2 separate regions of the Homo sapiens genome follow, and region 2 is linked to region 1. The links are contacts of gene promoters, found by promoter capture Hi-C in human tissues and cell types (Jung and others, 2019). All regions are on one chromosome and are shown on one strand. Each heading gives the region's core, a stretch centred on a gene start or on the middle of the fragment in contact. The rest is flanking DNA. Distances are from core to core; before and after follow the strand shown.

What was found. The method cuts DNA at HindIII sites, captures the fragments that hold promoters and counts their contacts. A contact is called where the count stands out against the background at its distance.
Region 2: a fragment that was not itself captured here is called in contact with the fragment with the promoter of TNC in region 1 in 6 of the 25 tissues and cell types used here (adrenal gland, heart left ventricle, mesenchymal stem cells and 3 more).

What each region holds. Positions count from the first base shown.
Region 1 is chr9:115,114,856-115,122,023 of GRCh38, forward strand. TNC (tenascin C) reads right to left here and starts at 3,302. Exons shown (of 28, transcript NM_002160.4): 1 at 3,127-3,302. It overlaps LOC124902255 (a long non-coding RNA gene), which reads left to right. Exons shown (of 3, transcript XR_007061746.1): 3 at 6,101-7,168. LOC101928748 (a long non-coding RNA gene) reads right to left here. Exons shown (of 6, transcript NR_110950.1): 6 at 4,684-4,853. RefSeq lists enhancers at 1-257, 3,581-4,400. The HindIII fragment of the contact is 7,931 bases long and covers 843-7,168 here.
Region 2 is chr9:115,326,067-115,333,234 of GRCh38, forward strand. All of the region lies in intron 4 of DELEC1 (deleted in esophageal cancer 1), which reads left to right. Among named protein-coding and RNA genes, the nearest start is that of DELEC1, 190 kb to the left of the region's middle. The HindIII fragment of the contact is 6,146 bases long and covers 1-5,757 here.

The DNA.
Region 1 (7,168 bases), core at 2,052-4,551:
ATAATTTGTAGTGTCTGAGTGAGAATGAGATGAGAAACCATTGGCAAACCCTCCTATTACATATGTGACACTATTAACTTTGTGTTTGTGTGTTTTACCATCACAAAAGGACATATATTTCGAGCCAACTAAATGTTTGCAACCTACTTTTTACGTTTCAAACTGAAGTGGCTTCAGCATGAAGGGGGCTGCGCTTTGGTCCAGTGGATATGTTTTCTTGTAAGAAAGCACAGCTAGGTGTCTATAGAAATCTAGAGAGAGAGGAGAGAATATGTGCTCTTAATTTATTGTTAGCATTAGAAAGGGTAGGATTAAGGGGGATATGTTTTTCATTCTGTCAGCTTGAATTCTCTTTCCAAATTCCATTCTGGTTATATGATCAGGCTACTGCTGTATTTATGGGTGGCCACAGTCTGCCTGGAGGGGCATATTTAGTCAGAAAGGAAGTGTTTTCCTTCTAAAGGCAGGCAAGAAGCAGAGAAGCATTCAGAAGGAACACGGCAGAATGTACCTCTGACTTGGTGATCACGGGGACCTGGGTGTGAAACCTGGCTGTATCACTCTGAGTTCTAGGACCTTGGTAAAGTTATTCAGTCTCCCTGTTCTTGAAGCCATCTCTTTGTCCAACAAATATAGTCCATACCTCAGAGACATGCTGTGGATGATCCCACAAAAGCCTACAGTTTAGAGAGTAGGCTCATCATATATTTTGGCTATCATTGTCATTAGAATTAATTAAAATAGCCTTTGTTAAGTCTTTTATTTCTCATTCATATTCCTGTCTATTACACTATTTGTGGACTTGCTCTTACTTCTGCTACAGATGGTGACTCAGAGGGGCAAAAATCCTTGTTGAAGGGCAGAATGGCAACCAGAATGCACACAGCCTGGTTTCATGATTTGTAAATGTGCTTTTTGTCATTGAAGATTCTGTGGCAATGTCCCAGAGGCTAAGAGCAAAGGTGTAAGTTTTAGACCTTGTGACCCCACTTCAACCAAAGCAGCCCTGCATTTACCTGTCATATACTGGGGGTTTGCCCTAAATTCATGTAATGAATATTTTCATCATTAAAAATAAGTTTAAAAATCATGATCTTAGAATATTAATCTTGGACAAGTCCTTGTAAAATGATAAACAGAGAAACTAAGAAAAGTTTCCATTTATTGAACCCTTAATATGTGGAAGGTACTATGCCAAGTGTTTGCCATATATTACCTCATTTGAATGTTGCAAGAGCCCTGTGAGACATAGTTTGTCATCTCCATTATATGAATGACAAAGTTGAGGGCTGAAACGTTAGTCACTTCTTAGAGTGGGGAAGGAGGAGGTTAGTGTGGGATAAAATAGAGAAGCTAGGTTTTTAAAACAAAGCATAGAGGAAAAAAATATTTAATGACTGTAGAGCTTGGCAACATCCCTTTCAATCCTTGTCCAATTTACCCTGTTTGAGCAAACCAGAGAATACTCATATTGTGCACCTTTTTCTTCCCCACAAAGCAGTCACCTTCCTGAAATGCAAGGGCCAAAGCACGCTGACTTACATCTCCTGCAAATGACTTGTATGCGCACAAAGCCAGAAACTCTTCACTTGGTTGTCTAGGACTGAATAAATCTTCTTCAGTCCTGAATTGGGCTTGCCTGGCTGGGATGGATAGTAGTTTTCCTTTCTAAAACACATATGGGAAAGCTCTGTAAAAATGGGGGAAAAAGTCTACAAAAACATGAAAAAGAGGCATTCATTCTTCAAGTGGTGCTCCCTGTCCTGCCCTCCCTCCGGACAGAAAGCTTTTCCAAAGAGTTTCCAACAGCATCGTACTTCATAGCTGTCAGCTTTAGAATCTGCAGATGCCTAAACTCAAAACCTCCTGACATTCTGGAATCAAAATTTGACATTAACTTCCAGCCCCGGGCTACTACCTTTTCTCCAACCTGTGCCAACACAACCTCCTGCTTGTAAAATACAGCCAAGTCTCAGACCTGCCAGCCTAGTGAGACACCCTCAGATTGGGTGAGATAAAAAGCGGGGGCTGGGGGCGGGCTGAGGAACAACACACAAGAAACAATCCAAGACTGGCTCAATGCCTCTTTTAACTTCCAGAGTGATGGCAGTTTTTGGCAATGACAATGATTATCCAAACTTCCAGTTATTAAGCAGTCATTGCTGATCTTTCTATACCTCATTTTCTCCTCAAAACGACAGCAGACGCTATTGTCCCCATTTTAGAGATGTGAAAACTGAGGATTAAGGAAGTGATGTATCTTTCTCAGGGTCATATGTATGGTGGTGGGGAGAATACCAAACACCTCTGGCTTCAAACCTAAGCTCTTATTCCTCTTACAACACTGATGGGTGAGAAGAACCCCTGTGTTCTTTCCAAAGTACACCAGGGGCAGCAGGGTTCCCATACCTGGGGGATGTTGTTGCTCAGATCTTTCTGTGATGAGAGGTGAGGAGGAGGAGGTGATTCTAGAGACATGTGGGACGCTGCTGGCTCTAGGCACCCCAGTAAAGCTGTTCTCCACCACTCTCTAGCTGCCTGTCAGTTATTCATCTGGCCCAGGAGCCACCTCCTCTCTTCTGTCCCCCAGCTCTCATTTCCAGGGTGAATATTTTGAGGACCAAATGAGGGAATGGGTACAAAACTCTTTGTAAACTTTATGTAAGTGCTGTTTAGATATAAACTTTTATATTCTCCCTGCACTCCTCTATCAAACTCCCTCTAACCCATCCCAGGGGCAGGCTATGAGCAAAGTCTGCCTTAAAACTCTACTGCCCTAACCCTCAAAATAAAAGATATATACAGGTGAATCAGCCAGACTAGAAGTAGGAGAGCAGTTGAAGAGAAAATTTTTACTTTTCCTCTGCAGAACAGCAGAAGATAACAACTTTACGAAAAGTTCCTTCCAAGTCTGACTATTCATAAAGTTAAAACAAACAAAATTACAAGACCAGAAAAGTCAAGGTGCATCTGATATAACCAATACACACTCCTTTTTTTTCCAGCGGTGGAAAAAAAAACCCCATATGTTTTGTAATTATAATATAAAATCACAACTCATTTGGTACCAGGAATGCAATCCTTACATCATAAGGATCTCTAGTGATGAGGGCAAAACAGACTTACCTTTCCGATGGGCGAGAGACCTAGGTCCTTGGAAGAAGTACCTGGAGTGTGGAGCTGCGGCGGTTCCCACGTGCGCGTTCCCCCGAGTTCCCCAGCAGCGCTGCCTTTGTGCCCACGGAGGCGGGGGCGTGTATCTGCGCGCGGGAGAGGCGGGTGACAGTAGGCAGGCTGTGGCCGGTGCAGCCAACTTTGGCTGGCTTATATAGCGAGCTCCTTCCTCTGTAATGGGACGCCTCGCCTCCAGACATCCTTTCCCACTTTTTCAGTTGGCGAATTAAAGGAACAGCCCTCCCAGCGGAACAGGGTTAGCTCATGAAAGACGCACTCACTCCTGGCTCTCGGCCAGGGAAGGAACCCATTTGCATACAATTTATGGCGAAAGTAGGAATTCCCGCCTGCCCGCCCCCGACCCCGAGTAGCTGTTAGTGAAATGTGATTTTTGCTTTGCTCCCCACACGGGTTTTCTAATTGTGAGACGGATGCCTGGGGAGCAAGAGGGAGTAGGATCCGCAGCCCTGGCTCCCCTCTTGTACTTGGTCAAGCTGGAAATGGGACCAGGGCTCGCCTGGGCTCTGGGCAGCAGCTGCTCAGTGGCACCTCGGAGCGAGTACAGGGACTGAGCCCAGTTCCTGGAAAGAGGAGATAAAGCCCTTCAAAAGCCTGGGGGGTTTCAGGTTTCTCTGGGCCAGCGGAGAGATAACCCAGGATTAGGTCTCAGCAGGTGGGGATCGTGCGGGACGCTCACATCAGCCCTGCTTTTCTTGTGTGGGAGCCAGCCTTGCCCAGCTGCTGGGAGGCATCTTTGTTCCAGCCCCAGTGTCCTGCAGGGCAGTAGCTTTTTGACATTGTTCATGCCCTGTGCCTGGTGTGGTCTTCTCAGCTGGGTCTCCAGGGGGAAGGATTTCTGAGGTTTTCTCTTAGTGCTGAAAGGCGTCCCCCACAGCCCTTTCTTTAAAGAAAAGCAATAATTTAAAAAGGTAACAACCTAATCCTTGAGCCATAAGCTGCGCCTTTGCTTTCCAGCCTGCCGTGGATTTCCTCCAAGCTCTGAGTCATCCGTTCGTTTGGTGGTTAGCATGCATTGAGTATCCTCAGGGCATACAGGGGCATTTAAGGGAGTGGAGAAGTAGCACTTCACCCGTGCCTAGAGACTTCTGAGCCTGCCGCAGAGCATAGTAGTTTGTGACAGTGAAGTAAAATGAAGCATTAAATGTAATTCAAAACGCAACTACCATTGAGCCCTCCCTTATTAAGTCTATAATCAGGTGCTGTGCAGGGTACTTTATGAACACTATTTTTGTTCACTATTTTTATTATATCCTTGTAACCAGTAAGTAGGATAGACACAAGTGTCTCTTTTTTACACAAGAAAACTGACGTTTAGAGAAGTAATGAAACTTTACCAAGGGAATACACCTGGGAAGTGTTTATATTACAACACTGGGCTCCAGAGATCTATTACACGTTACTGTTTAGGAATAGGGTATGATGATATTTAAACAATGTTTTATGCTGTATTAGATTGTTAACACCATTTGTGTAGAAATCACAGCCATATTTGAATATGGAAAATATATTTATTTGCTCCATAAAGCTAATTAGGAGAGATCTTTGATTTTTAAAAATTAACTACTAATAATGGAGGTCTCAATTATCCACTTATTTTCAATATTAAATGATATCATCCCCACAGTTATTATTGTTGCTGTGGGCCTCAGTTTCCCCATCTGAAAAAAAAAGCAAGACACGATTAGGTCATCCTACGGTTGCTTTGGCTGTAGTATTTTAGGATTCTCTGCTAAAGTGACCCTCCCAGACAGCAAGAAAGCCCATAAATAGTCATGTCATAAAACCGCTCATTTGAACTTTTGATCCATTTTGGCTGATTCAAATGTTGGTTGTTTGGGAAGTTTTAAATTCTGTGCTTTAGCCAAAGGATATTTCAGTAGCATGAAGCTGTGTCTCAACCAGCAGTGAGTGGTTCCTACTGAGTTAATCTCTTGGGTTAGGGATTAAAATATTAGAATAGTGTACAATATATGTCATATGGTATATAAACTATATTTGTATAGAACATATAATCAATATATTTATAATTCTATGTGAGTTTTTAAATAAGACAAGAGCGCATGCTAGAAAACTAGATAGATATGGCTTTTTCGGGGAATGTCTCAAACTCGAACTCCTCTCCCCAGTTCTTTAGGATTCTACAATCGTTGATTAGTGTCTACCACAAGTGGTATGGTCAATCACAGGGAAACTAAGCCAAATATGACCAGGCTGGCCCTCAAAGCAGGAAAAGGCTAGCAGAGGTGACAAACAAGAATACTATTATGGGTTAAGTTAACAACTATCATATAAGTGTATTCTGATAACATAGAGAAGAGATGATTTATGCATTTTTAGGAGAGGCTACTTGTAAAAGGCATTTTCTCCAAAAAGCTATGTGGCATCTTAAGCTTTTTGGCATTTGAGTAAGGAGTGCCCAGACGAGGACGTGTTTTCCATCCCTGTACTGTTCGCAGCCTCTGTTTCTGGTAGATGGGTCCATATGCACCAGGTACTCTACAATACCCAAACTTTGTTCATGCTAGGATGATGCCCTAGGCTCCTCACCTCCATGCCCTCACATCTATTTATCATCCATTTCTGATCTGACTTCACTATGGAGCTTCCTAAATGGAAGAAATCCATCTAGGAAGAGATGTTTCTATGCACTATGGCATTTGTAACTCTATTAGGACATCCATTGCATCTACATGGTATAATTACACATGTGCATGTCTAGATTTTCCTCCTAGATGCTAGGCTTCCTGAGGCTGGTGATCACACTTGCTTTTTCTGTACCTGGCATAGAGCCTTGGGTATCATAGAAGCTCAGTAAATGTTTATAGAATGAATGAAGTAATGGAGGAACAAATAAATGTTTGACATGTTGTGCTTTATAATTAAATTCTTCCTTTTACAACCATAGAACCTGAAAAGGAAACTGGATTATTGTGTCCAATGCTTCCATCGCACAGATCAGAAAGTGGGGTGCTGAGAGGAAGAATGACTTGTCTGAAGCCACTATGCCTGCTTTCCAGGAAGAAAACTGTCACAATCAGAACTGAGCAACCAAGCCACACTAGACATTACAGCAGAGGAAGTTTATGGAAATGAAGAACCATTTTTCCTCCTGTTTGGCAGAGGCCATACCTCTTGGCATCTAATCCCTCATGGTTGCATCCTTCTGAGAAGCATAAGCACTTTTTTCCACTTGAGAGGGTAGAATGAATGCATGTAAACACCACCCCTGCACAGAGCTTCCTGCCAAAGACTGATTTTGTTGTTGCTTGTTTGCAGTTCTTATTCAGGAGTTGCTGGTGGAGGCTGTGGTTTAGAGACCAGAGGAATGTCATGGTTTGCCTCAGGTGAGATCATTCTCATTTCTTTAAAGGTCTGTTAAATGTAATACTTTTTCTTCCAGACAGAACAGACAATGAGTGGAATTTTGGCCAGGACTAGTGCTGAGGAAGCTGAGTGTCCACTTCCCCATGGAATCCCCTGCTTCCTACTCTGATTACATACTCCTTCACTGTTCCCAACCTTCCTCCTCCTCTTCCCGGGATTCATCTCATCTGGTGTGCTAACTCCAGTCCAAAAGTCTCATGTGACTCCATAATTACCAGAAATCTTTTCCAAAGCCGGGATGGATCTCTGATCCCACACAGTGGGCCAGTCATTTAATTAAATGCATTTTGTTAGAGTCAAGGTTTCCCAACTTGCTTGCAGATCATTGTTGAGTGGTCTTTTCCAACTCTTCTTGCTTTTCCTTCGACAACAAAGGACAAAATCAAGTTCAAAGACCATATGGAGTGTGTGGCAAGACATATGAGAGCTTCTCTGATGGATGGACTATGGCAATTTAGCTGCGCCATCAACCAAGAAGTCATGCCTGGTCAGCACAGCAGAGTGGAGAGCATTGGTTGAGTGTCTAAGTCTTGATGCTGCATCAACTCGCTGTGTGACTTTGGGAAAATCGCTTTCCCCGCTGACACAC
Region 2 (7,168 bases), core at 1,435-3,934, 210 kb after region 1:
TGGAGCTTCATAAATCTTTTTGAAGTGAGATCTTCAAGACATGGATGCTGATAGATGCCAGACTATCATGGATGCGAGTCTCAGCATCTGATGGGATAAGAACATGGTTTATCATTTTTGATCCTGAATTTGAATAGGTAAGAGATGAGTAATGAGAAAAAAGAAGGGAGGAAAAGAAGTCTGCAAAATAGAGACTGAGACCGGGCAATATAAAGGGTTTGTAAAGCATCTTGATAGTGAGATGTCTGGAGGAGATTTCTAAACGGGTTCTGTTCTGCTCTTTGATAGTTGTTTTGTTGGTGGCTATAGAGATTTTTTTTTCCCCCTGAAGCTCCTCTCCCCATTATTGTGTGAAGTTCACTCTTCTTGCAAATGTGAGTGGAGTTTTTAGAAATTCAAAGCAATAGTTGAATTTTTTCTCCAGCTAAGTCTTCTAGACTAAAACAGAGATACCCATCTAGAAACAAATATTGAGAGACAAGAGGTGCTGGGTTTTCTGAAAATTTGCCAAAGTACTGGAGAAGATGTCTACAGGCTGCACAGTTGGGGAGGATAAGAAGCTAATTTTGCTGAGATCTCAAAGGTCAGCGAGACCCTAGATAAAATATAAACCAACATTTACTAGAAGCAGCTGTGTAGTAGTCATTTCCCAGAGGTCTGAGAATTAAGACCTATCACTAGCCCTTCTGTGTTATGTTAGCGAGTAACCATGTTACGTGCCTAGTTTAGGGTAGGATGATATTGATGGGTGGAGAAGTCAGAGAAGGGTCTGCTCCTCTCCTTGATTCATCCACTCACCCTCTTGCTTTGAACTTCTCCAAATGGCTGAGGTTTTAGACTTTACACTGGTGGAATTTCATATACAATCACATAATAGGCACATAAAATATATTTCATCTAATCTTTCTAACAGCCCCAAGAGGCAGATCATACTGTCTTTTCAAAAAAAAAATAACAGTAAGGTGAGGAGATTCATAGTTATAGGTGTGAACGGGCTTTAGGATCTGATAAGCCGAAACTGGATTGATTGATAGCTTTGCCTGGTCCTATCTGTAGGTCCTTGAGCAAAGTATCTAACTTCTAGGAGCTTATATTTTCTCTGAACAAGGAGATCTTGAAGGATTGTGTAACAGTTACAACAGAGTGCCAGTTGTTGGAAAATACCTACAAAATGGTGGTGTTACTATTTTCTTATTCTTTTGCACTTTTTTTTATATCCATAGATAGTAAATGCTCAACAATTCAGTGATGAAATTAAGTGAAATTATCTTCCTAAACTAGGCTACTATAGTCCTGTTAACTCCTGCGTGTAGTTTACAATGAATCCTTGTGTCCCTTGTATGGAAAAATCTGCTTAATTTATCAGCTCTGCCAAGTTCTTACAAAAACAAAAGAAAAGGTGAAGAAGCAGAAAAACAAATGGAAGATATCCTTTCTGTAGTCTTTTACTGTTGACATAGATTTCCTCTGCAGAAGAGAAAACTATGGCTTTAAAACTGGGATGGTTCATACTCAAAAAGAATCAGAGCTGGTCTGGTATGAGTTGGTTATGGACTGAAAGGGTTAGGTTATGTCAAAACTTTTCATGAGCTAGTACAAGCAGGATTCTCTTGTTTATTGTTATATTTTAAAAGACATTCCAGGCAATAAAGAAAGAAACTCCCTCAGCATGTTCTGGCTTTGGGCCCCTGTCTCGGTCATGTTGGTGCGGCAATGGAGTGGGTGTCTATCTCCCAGATGTGTAAGTGCAGAATGGGTTGCAACCTGGATTCTTGATTGAGAAACCTTCTGTTCCTCTATAGATGAAGGTCTATTTCCTTCCTCCTGAGGCTTAAATGGGGAGGCATGGAAAGCCTCACACAGGACTGACCTGGATAAAAGGGTCTTTGTGAAGAGAAGGCAATTTATCAACTGCAGGGCCATTTCAGGGAATGATTTAACTGTGGTCACTGTGCTGTTCACAGCAACTTTACATCCACACCTATAGCCCCAACTTTGCCATCAATTTGCAAACACATACCTGATGGACACCTATGCTGATCTGATGTTTTGGGGGGCTTTCTCTTGGGTTCCAAGTATTTAATTTTATTGCATTTGAGGAACTAGGAAGGAGGGAGGAAAACGTTTAAAAAGAGAGACATTTTTAGGGAATTTAGCCAATGTTCCAAAGAGCCATGTTGATGAAATGGAGCAGTTTAAGTGAAAACAAATTGAGTTTGGAAAAAAAAAAAAAATTTCCTCCACCCAGTGGCATTTGGAGCTTCCATTCTGAGTTACTTCTAACTTCCTGGAGCCACGTTTACTTTGCTGAGCAGACTAAATCATTTAAGTTGTCAGCTTCTCCCTGTCCTTGCCAGACCTCACTCAAGGAATGCTTCCAGGGCCATGGGAGCTCACAAAGGCCTCAGTCTGCCTGAGTCACTCTCTGGGGACCACATATCCACAGGGCAAGTTTCTCTGTCCTAATTTAAGGCTTCTCAAAGTCAGGGGAGAGCCTTTCTGTTTCCATCCACAAAATAGGTCAGAAGGATATGATAATAGCGATAGGTAGAATTTTATTTAGCGTTCCTTGTGTGTAGCAAGTACCATGTTGAGAGCTTTATATTCATTAATTAATAAACTCTTCACAACCATCTGATATGGGAAGCTAATAATCTTCTGGTTTTATAGACATTCTTTTTTCTGAGAATCAGAACAAACAACTTGATCAAGATTATGCAGCAGCATTGGGCTTCAAAACCAGGTGGTTTGTCTTAAACTTAGCTCCTAATACTCAGCTCTATTTCTCTGGGGACATTGGATGTTATTGCAGTTCCCCACCATGCAGCTCACTCAGCACCAGGGTATGTGCTGTATGGGGTGAGGAGAGGGGGAGGAGAAGGGACAGCTGTGATTCAATTAGCACAGGTCTCTGCTAATTGCAGAGAAGGAGCCTAAATTCTAGAGGGGAGACAAGTGTATGAACAAAATCATCAGAGCAGAGTGACAGAGTGTCTAGAAGTACTAAAGAGGGCTTAGTACAAAGTCTAGATGTACTAAGGAGGAATGAGCAATTAGGTCTTTCTCTGAGTAAGGAAGGGGCTTTGTAAAGGAAGACTTGAAGAGAAGATCATCCTTGGACAAGAACTTCAGCATAGAAGAAGTTTATCTAAAACATGATTGACAACGAGACCAGCAGGGGCAAAAACACAGAGAGAGGTGGACGAGAATGGTGTGGCAGATAAATAGAAGGAGCCTAGAATTGCTCTAGTGTCAACTGAAAGGTAATAGAATGCTAATCAGTATCTATTTTTTTTGCCTCCTTTGTAATTAGGTGAAGCAGTATTCTGATTTCATTTCTGGATGATAGAATAGGACAGGAAATTATATGCCCATCTACCAAGTCTGGCTCATCAACCCTTCAATAACTGATCCTTTTCCTTTCTCCCCATATTCTGGCAGACAAAGAGAACTCAGAACCCAAAGGACCCAGAAGACCAAAGAAAACAAGGTCTCTGAATTATTGCCCCAGGCAATCACCCCTCTCTCAGTGGACACACTTTTATTGTGTTATGCTGATAAAATTTGGGGATTATTCATTCTAGTGCTTAGTCTACCTTTACTAATCATGGTGGTTGGGAAAGGAAAATGATCACTCAGAGCCTTATACATGGAATGAAGAGGTTAGGATTTATCTTTAAGGAGATTGAGAGCTATTGCACAGTTTTAAGCAACAGAGTGGTTCAGATCTGTGGCTCAGGATGTTTGTTCTGAATGCTGTGTTGTCTGAATGGGTTGGCGCTAGATGGTGGGAATGGGAGACATGAGTGGCTAATGGTCTATCTGCGCTGCTCTCAAGGGTATGCCTAACTCCTACTCCATCTGCGCTGCTCTCAAGGGTATGCCTAACTCCATCATTTTATTCAATTTTTGTACACTGTGGACATTGCATACAGTGGCATAAATGGATAAATGACTTCATCACTACCAATGATTTTATGCCAGTCATGGAGCTTGGCATTGACGTGCATCATCTCCTTTAAAACTTGCCAGAACTCAGGAGATAAATATCATGATTCTCCTCTAACAGGTGAGGAAACAGAAGCTTGGTCAGTTTGGGCAACTTCCTCAAAGACCTGCAGTCTTTAAATTCTTGAGCTGAGGCTTGTACTCAGGCTTCTGATTCCAGAGTTTATACTCTTTTCATTAACCTGCTTGCTGAGTAACTTTTTTGTTTGTTTGTTTGTTTGTTTTCAGATGGAGTTTCACTCTTGTCGCCCAGGATGGAGTACAATGGCATGATCTTGGCTCACTGCAACCTCTGCTTCCAGGGTTCAAGTGATTCTCCTGCCTCAGCCTCCTGAGTAGGTGGGCTTATAGGTGCCCGCCATGATGCCCAGCTAATTTTTGTTTCATTAGTACAAATAGGGTTTCACTATGTCGGCCAGGCTTGTCTCGAATTCCTGACCTCAGGTGATCTGCCCGCCTCGGCCTCCCAAAGTGCTGGGATTACAGGTGTGAACCACCGTGCCCGGTTTGAGTAACCTTTAAGTAAGAAAGTGCCTTTTGGGTTGAGTTTAACAATTTCCATGGTAGAGAGTCTCTTCTGCTATATGCTGTTTACTTAGCTTCTGCCTAGTATATGCAGCAGCAGAAAATGGTTTCCCTTGTTGTAGGTCTAATGAGATTTAGAACACTTTGGGTCCTCAGATATAGTGAGCAAGATTTTCACTTCATAGATGAAGGAACTGCAGCCTAAAGAATTGGGAAGAAAAGGTTTATCCAGGCTTGCTGTGCATTCCTTCCTTTCTCTGGGAATTCCCTTGGAGAAGAAATCTGGCTGATCAAATCTCCTTGTAAACATGCTGTGAAGACTCTGGGGAAAACCACTAATGATATTTGTTAGTGGCAGTCTTTATCTTTGAGAGACTTTTAGCAGCATGAACCTTACCCCCGTAGTAGAATTGTATATGGTAAACAAACCTGGAATCTAAGGATTCATGGGTAATGGCTTCTTGAAAAGTGTCAAGTAAGCTATGTAACTATGGCAGGAGATGGAACTACTTCAGGGTTAAAAAAGCTGGCTTTCATTTCGTGCAAGTAATGTACTTGTGTACATCTTTTGGAGAACCATATGTTAAATCCGAATCAGACCAAGTCCTAATGTGGTAAGAAAAGGGCTGTGGAGTAGTATTGGCAGTCCTGGGCTTTTCCCTATGTTCCCTGTACCTTGTGATTACTTATAGCTTTGACATTATTAGTAAAGTTTGATACTTGGTAAAATATTTTATTCTTGTGGGTCTAATTTGAAAATCTAGCCCTTGTGTTATCTCCAACAGATACTGCCTGATCCAAGATCACAAAGTTGGGCAGCAATGAAAGATCTAATCTCAGACCTCTTCTCTCCTGTATCCCAAACCAGTGCAACAATGAGGTTTCCTCTGTTCCTACATATTTATTTCTACATCTTCTTACGTGGTTTAGAATGATGATGATGATGATGATGATGATAATGATAAAATCAGCAACTACCTTTAATTTACCTTACTATGTGTCAGACATAGTGCTTCTCATTATATAAAAACAGTATAAGCAACACATCTATATGTAAAAACTCTCACGTCGTGAAACATATGTATAGAGACCCTATCGGGTTAAACCTTATGAAACTTCTAATATGTATTTAACCTACAAAACAGGAATGTCATTTGGCTCAATCCAATATAATATGCCAGGTAGTTTAAATTAGGTGGACAAGAAAGGCCTCTGAAGATCTGAGATCGAACAACGGGAACTTGGCATATAAAAGTTCAGAAAAGAGAAGAACCTATGCAAAGGGAATCTTCTGCTTCAAGGACTCTGAGGATGGGACCAGGTGCAGTTTGAGCACTGAGAGTCCTGTTATGGCTGAAGTAGAGTGAGTAAGACAGAGTGGTACAGGTTGAGTTGGGATGGGTAGACAGAAATAAGACCATTGAGCTTTGGAAGTAGGAGTAAAGAGTTTGAGTTTTATACTAAATGGGTTTTGACTGGGGACAGAGAGGAAAAAATGAGATGTGATTGATTGATTGATAATTTATTATTTTTATAGATTTAGGGGGTGCAAGTGCAAATTTGCTACATGGATGTACTGCATTGTGGTGAAGTCTGGGCTTTTCGTGTACTCATCACCCAAATTGTGAACACTGTACCATATAGGTAATTTTTCAACCCTCATCCTCCTCTTGCCCTCCCACATTCTGGAGTCTCCAATGTCTAGTCTTCCACACTGTACGTCCATATTTACCCATTGTTTAGCTCCCATGTACTCATCACCCAATTAGTGAACACTGTACCATATAGGTAATTTTTCAACCCTTATCCCCTTCTTGCCCTCCCACCTTCCGGAGTCTCCAGTGTCTAGTCTTCCACACTGTATGTCCATGTGTACCCATTGTTTAGCTCCCACATACTCATCGCCCAATTAATGAACACTGTACCATATAGGTAGTTTTTCAACCTTCATCCCCCTCTTGCCCTCCCACCTTCTGGAGTCTCCAATGTCTTGTCTTCCACACTGTATGTCCATGGGTACCCATTGTTTAGCTCCCACGTATAAGTGAGAACATATAGTACCTGACTTTTTGTTTCTGAGTCATTTCACTTAGGATAATGACCTCTAGCTCCATAATTTTATTTTTAAAGAGTTTCTCTAGCTGCCAAGTGGAGAATGGGCTATAGGGCTATAAAAGCGGCAGCAAGGAGACTATGTGGGCTGTTACTGTAGTGGGCAAGGCAACAGCCAGTGAAGGCCCAGACTAGAGTGATAGCAATTGGATGGAGATAACTCTGCAGATGAGGGGTTTATTTTTGTTGCTTGTGACAGGCAAGTTCCCATGCTCCCTGGTAGCCACCTTATGAAAGGTCTTGTTGATGTTTCAGAGAACATTTACAAACAACATCTCAGACAAGGCTGTGGAAACAAGGGGTTTCACTCACTTACTTTGATGTCTGACTTGTGGATACAATACTGTAAGTTAATCCTCTCCTTTGTCTCAGAGAAGGGTTTGCTTTGGGTAGCTTAGAGCACTTGACAGGAGGCATTTTGTAGCAGCCCTATTACCCAAGGGGTATAGGAAAAGCTACAGACCAGAACTGATATGCTCTTCTCTAGAAAATGAAACTGCTTCCAGATCCAGAGATAATTAGA